Regions from separate parts of the Homo sapiens genome. Here region 1 is linked to region 2. The links are contacts of gene promoters, found by promoter capture Hi-C in human tissues and cell types (Jung and others, 2019). All regions are on one chromosome and are shown on one strand. The core of a region is centred on a gene start or on the middle of the fragment in contact, and the rest is flanking DNA. Distances in the headings are between cores, read along the strand shown. Region 1 has its middle 44 kb from the start of FAM201A. Region 2 holds the start of SLC25A51 (solute carrier family 25 member 51).

Region 1 (3,087 bases), core at 6-2,505, 760 kb after region 2:
AGAAGCTTGCGTGGCCTTGCCAGGTTCCCAAATCACAAAACCACACACTGTTCTCATTAGTGTGAAGTGCAAGATTCTCTCTTCTATGCTAATTTGCAAAGAAATTAAGATGGTACCTTTCAGTAGAAAAATTTCCCTCAGTGCCCTAGTTCAGAGGAGCGATGAAATGTAACACGCAGAGAGTCAGATGTTTAGGTACTCCTCAAGTTTCCTGTAAAAGAGCAGAACTGCAGGCTGCTGGAAAGACTGAGGGTGGAGCTGGCGCTGCAGCAACTGAGGGATGTCTTTGCAAATGTGCTCATGTATGTTTTTATGTGAAAATAATCTTAAAATTTCTCAATTCAGGCTAAGAAGAAAGAAAGAAGACACAATTACTAATACCAGAAATGAAACAGGGATCATCATTTCTGATCAAATGGATGTTAAATGGACAATAAATGAATATTATGAACAATTCTATGCCCATAAATTGTACAACTTAGATGAAAAGAACCAATTCATTGAAAGACAGAACCTACTAGATGTCACATAAGGAGAAATAGATGATCTGAATGGGCCTATATGGACTACAGAAATCGAATTGATAATTAATAAACTTCCAAAACAGAAAGCACCAAGTTTAGAGGGGTTCAAAGGTGAATTATACCAAACAATTGAGGAATAAATGATATCAGTTATTCATAATTTGTTCCAGAAAATTAAAGTAGAATGAATACTTCCTAACTCATTCTATGAGGCCAGCATTACCCTAATACCAAAACCAGATAAAGATATTACAAGAAAGGAAAACTCTAGACAAATATTTCTTATGAACATAGATGCAAAAATCCTCAACAAAATATTAGCAAATTGAATCCAATAGTATATAAAAAACACAATATGTGTGTATACACCACAATCAAGTGAGGTGTATGTCAGGTATGCAATCTCAACATTCAAAAAACAATTAGTGCAATCTATCACATCAACAAGCTAAAGAAGAATCAGATCAAATGATCATATCAATAGATTCAGAACAAACATTTGACAAAATCTAACACGCATTTATATTAAAAACGCTTAGCGAACTAAGAATAGAGGAAAAACTGCTCAAACTGATAAAGAACATCTACAAAAAGTTTACAGCTAACATCATACTTAATGGTGAGAAACTAAATGCTTTCTTTCTAAAATTGGGAATAAGGACAGGATGTCCCCTCTCATCACTCCTATTCAGCATTATACTGAAGTCCTGGTTAATACAGTGTGAAAAGAGAAGGAAATAAAAGGTATACAGATTGGGAAAAAAAAAACCAAAATTATCTTTGTCTAAAATGACATTATTCTACATTATTCAGTAGAAAAATCTCAAATAATAAACAAAAATTCTCCTGGAACTGATACGTCATTAAAGACAGGTTGCAGGATGCGAAACCTTTAATTGGTTGAAATTTAAACCAAATTTAATTTGGATTAATATCCAAAAGTCAGTTGGTTTCCTATATATCAGCAATAAACAATTGAAATTAAAAGCAAAACACCAATTACATTAGCAGTAAAAAAGTGAAACACTTAGGTATATGTTAACAAACCAGGTATCAGATCTATATGAAGGAAAACAACAAAACTCTGATGAAAGAAATAACAAATCTAAAGAAATGGGGAGATGTTTAATGTTTGTAGATAGGAAGACTCAATATTGCCAGGAGGTCAGTTTTCCCATCTGGGAATCTATAGATTCAATGCAATTCTTTCTTTTGTTTTTTTTTTTTTTTTTTTTTTTTGAGATGGAGTCTCTCTGTCTCCCAGGCTGGAGTGCAGTGGTGTGATCTCGGCTCACTGCAAGCTCCGCCTCCCGGGTTCACGCCATTCTCCTGCCTCAGCCTCCCGAGTAGCTGGGACTACAGGCGCCTGCCACCAAGCCTGGCTAATTTTTTGTATTTTTAGTAGAGACGGGGTTTCACCGTGTTAGCCAGGATGGTCTCAATCTTCTGACCTCATGATCTGCCCGCCTCGGCCTCCCAAAGTGCTGGGATTACAAGCGTGAGCCACCGCACCCGGCCGACTCAATGCAATTCTAGTCACAATCTCAGCCGATTACTCTGTGGATATCAACATACTGATTCTAAAGTTTACATGAAATGGCAAAAGATCTGTGGATAGATCAATAGAATATTGAAGAAGAAGAAAGAATGACATTACCCAACTTTAAGACTTATTTTAAAGTTACAGCAATCAAGAGTCTGGTATTGGTGAAAGAATAGACAAATAAGTCAATGTAAGAGGATAGAGAGCCCCAAAATAGACCTATGTAAATGTACAGTCACCTGATTTTTGACAAAGAAGAAATGCAGTTCAACGGATAAATGGACAGTTTTGTTTTTTGGTTTTTGGTTTTTGTTTTGTTTTGTTTGAGATGGAGTTTTGCTCTTGTTGCCCAGCTGGAGTGCAATGATGCGATCTCAGCTTACTACAACCTCTGCCTCCTGGGTTTGAGCAATTCTCCTAACTCAGCTTTCTAAGCAACTGGAATTACAGGTGCCTACCACCACGTCTGGCTAATTTTTGTATTTTTAGTAGAGACAGGGTTTTACCATGTTGGCCAGGCTGGTCTTGAGCTCCTGACCTCAAGTGATCCACAACGCCTTAGCCTCCCAAAGTGCTGGGATTACAGGTGTAATCCCGCACCTGGCCCAAAGGTACAGTCTTTTTAACAAATGGTGGTGGAACAACTAGACATCACATGCAAAAGAAAAAAAAAAGGATCTAGACAAAGACCTTACACCCTTCACAAACTGAACTCAAAATGGGTCATAGGCCTAAATATAAAACATAAAAGTATAAAACTTCTAGAAGATAACACAGGAGAAAATTTACATGACTTTGGATTTGACGATGAGTTTTTGTGCTACATCGAAAGCATAATCCATGAGGGGAGAAAACAGGTAAGCTGGACTTTATCGAAATTAAAACTTCTGCTCTGTGAAAGAAACTGTTAAAAGAAAAGAAGGCAAAGCCACATGGATGAGCTTAGACATAGTTGTGAAGAGACACCAGCATGCTTTTTGTGAGTCATTTCCCTCTCTCCCTCTCTCTCTCTTTCCCTCT
Region 2 (3,126 bases), core at 378-2,877:
GAATATGTTCTTAATTTAGCAATAGAAGGATAATGTGCACAGCATTATTTGGTAGTACAGTTTAGACTTTTGCATGTTTACCTATACTGTGAACATGGTTAAATTTCTTTGCTAAACTGATCTTTATATTTTTATTCATTAATGTGGATAATTCTTTGCAATTTATTGCAAAATTTATTTACCATAACTTTACGCTTGTTTGCTACGTAAAACTATCTCATCATAAGGGAGCAGTTAATGAACTTGATTTTCAAGCAACTACAAGTGTCAAGCTTCTGTGACTAAGAAAACAGTGTAAAGTCTAAAACCTTATTATAATTTACAGCCTACATGGATCAGCATGATACAGATATGATCCTAGCACAAAGGTCTCTGCAAAAACTGGGGAGAGGGTGACTCCAATTCTCAAAGGATGTGAATTTCCACTAGTCAGCAGGTCTGAGTCAGCATTCAGAACAAGATCAGCCTGGGTCTAGTCCTAGTTACGACACTAGCTTGCCAATATAAAGACAAAGCAATATCTGATTTTAAAATCCACTGATCTGAGTTTGCTTTCATTTACCAAACGAGAGATCAGATGAGTCAACTCCTAGCTTGTTTTCCCCTGAGATGCGCTAAGGGTGATTCCAGTTCCAAAGCGGTAACCTGTGCTCTAAACCACTATGGGACCTCAAGAGTCCTAGCACCTTTTGATCCTATGGAATCCTTTCAAAGCACGGGCAGAGGCGGCTCAAAATGGCAAGGTCACTATACATTTCAAGGGCTTCTGTTTCAGAGATTACAAGTAGAGAAAAACAGAAGGTGGGAATTAAGATCAGCTAGGTAGAGCTGTGAGATGCAAAACAAAGGTTTTGCAGGAAGTTGAGGTGCTGACATACTCCATCTAGCTAAACTGAACACCAAATAATGGATGGAGACTAACACCACCAACACCATCGTCCCCGAAAATCCTTGTACAAGTGAGCTTCCTACAACGCGATGCAATATGCTGTCGCAGAACAAGCACTGCCAGGCTATGTAGCTGAACTTACCGTTCTCCAGGCGTCCATTTCCCCAACCTGTGAAAGGCGGGGAGGGGGTTGGACAAGATCACTAAGTCCTCTTCCGTTTCTGACACTTCACAGTCAGGGGTCCCGAGGTGAGGCCGAAATCCCAGTCTCCCGGGACGCAGAGGCCCTTGCGCGGTGCCATCCCCGCTGTCCCCCGGGCGCAGGCAGCTCCCGGCTCCTCCCCGCCCCTGCGGTTCCTGTGCACCAGGGAGGTGCCTCCCCAGCCCAGGGCGCGCCCGAATGAAGGGACAGCGCCTTCGCGGGAAAGGTCGCCCAGCAGCCGGACAAACACCCGCGGCAGGCGGGGGAGCCCGGAGCCGAGGAGGCTCAGAACTGATTCCGCCCGCGCCGCCTGGGTGGGGCCCGCAGGGACCGGGCCAGGGCAGCCGGAGCGCGCAGAAGACAGGGATGGGCCCCCAGGGCGGCAGCCTGCCCCAGCGGGCCCTTCAGCGCGTTTCCCCTCCCTCCAACCTCATGCGAAGAAAGCCCGGTGCTTCCCCACGCTCGTCCCACACTCACCCATCAGCGCCGGCGTCCCGCAGGACGGCTAGCGAGCCGGGGCCCGCGCAGGCGCAGACTGTGACCGACCCCGAGGTTGGGGCGCAGCGCGACGCGCTGGGCGCTGTTGGGGTCACGTGAGGGAGACACCGCCCCGCCCCGCCTCCCCTCCCTCGGCCCGCGGCCCGCCAGATGTCGCCAGCCTACTTCTCCTGGCCGCAGGCCGCCGCGGCGGGGCAGGTAGAGGGCCACGCCAGCACACCTGTCAGGATGCGGGCTCCGCTAGCCACCATGCTTCACCCTTGATGCCGTACGGTGGCCTCAGCGTGCCAGAAACAGCCAACGCGTTCTCTAGCGCGCTGCCTGCAGGGGGCGTCTGGGCATTGTCGGTTTTAGGGGCCTTGTCGGTTCTGCGGGGCGAGCGCCTTCGCGGAAAACTCCAAAGTACCCTCTGTGGAGCCTTGTTGAGTATCTTCAAACCTTCAGAGGGACCTTTTATCAGCGACCCATGCCGCAGTTTACAGAAGAACGCTTTGTGCGTGCTTTGGGACGTATGGATCACTTTTAAACTTTTTCCTTTGAAGCTCAGACAGCTTGCGGGGGGCTTGGGAGGAGCGCTGCCCGGGGAGTTAGAAGGCTTGGGTCAAAGTCATAGCCCTCATACTTCTTGAGAGTGACCTTGGGTGAGTCGCTGGACCCTGAGCCCCAAATCTCCGTCTGAAAAGTAACCCATGCCTTGTATGCGTCCTCGGGCTGTTGCAGGAGTCTTTGGAAATGATGGTTCTGACTCTGAGTTGGAAACTGGAACGCACACAACAGATGGGAGGCGTTGAAGGAAACAGAAAGGTCGGCCTGAGGGGAGAGGCGTTTCAGGAGGCTTGCGGATGTGTGAAGTGTGCGCACTGTGCTTGGGGCGAGCCCAAGCAGTAACCCCACCCGAGTGAAGCGTTCTTGGGGGGATCGGCTCCGGGTGGGCGACGTTCCCCGCGTGCCCCCTTCCCCCGAGAGCACTTTGTAGACACTGACTCCAAAAGCGGGTCTGGTCTCTGCCCAGCCCCACTTTGGCTGGCGTGCTTAGGTGCCTCTCGGGAAGCTGGAGACCACCCTCCCCCATTCCAGCAAACGCTCCATTGAGGAACCTACTGCGTGCCAGGTCCTGGGGAGCTTAGCGTCTGATGAAGGATACAACAACAAAAGACTGGAAATTCAGAAGCATGAGGGGACCTCCCCCCTCGAGGGAGAACCAGAGATGGCTTCACAGAGCAGACGTTTGAACTGGGCCTTGGAGGATGGATGAGTGGAATTTGGCCCAGTGGAGAAAGTCATAGCAGCAGGAGATAAGATTGTAAGGGTCAGGTGGTGGGGCTGGATAATGCGAATCTTGACTGTCAGACACAGACACCTGCCATCTAATTAGTACGCGAGGGATAAATTTTGGACTCCGCAGGATAAGGACAAGGCTACACAATGGCTTAGAACAGTTAATCGGGCAACAGTTGGAAAGGGCCTTTGCCTCAAAATTATGTTTGCCCTGTCTTGTGTGAATGCCTATTCAGATGCATTATTTGAAAAATAAATA

Evidence for each region. The method cuts DNA at HindIII sites, captures the fragments that hold promoters and counts their contacts. A contact is called where the count stands out against the background at its distance.
Region 1: a fragment that was not itself captured here is called in contact with the fragment with the promoter of SLC25A51 in region 2 in 1 of the 25 tissues and cell types used here (dorsolateral prefrontal cortex).

What each region holds. Positions count from the first base shown.
Region 1 is chr9:38,663,180-38,666,266 of GRCh38, forward strand. No RefSeq gene overlaps it. Among named protein-coding and RNA genes, the nearest start is that of FAM201A, 44 kb to the left of the region's middle. The HindIII fragment of the contact is 4,635 bases long and covers 1-3,087 here.
Region 2 is chr9:37,902,500-37,905,625 of GRCh38, forward strand. It overlaps SLC25A51 (solute carrier family 25 member 51), which reads right to left and starts at 1,628. Exons shown (of 3, transcript NM_033412.4): 1 at 1,569-1,628. It also overlaps the pseudogene PAICSP1. RefSeq lists a silencer at 1,069-1,828. The HindIII fragment of the contact is 6,842 bases long and covers 118-3,126 here.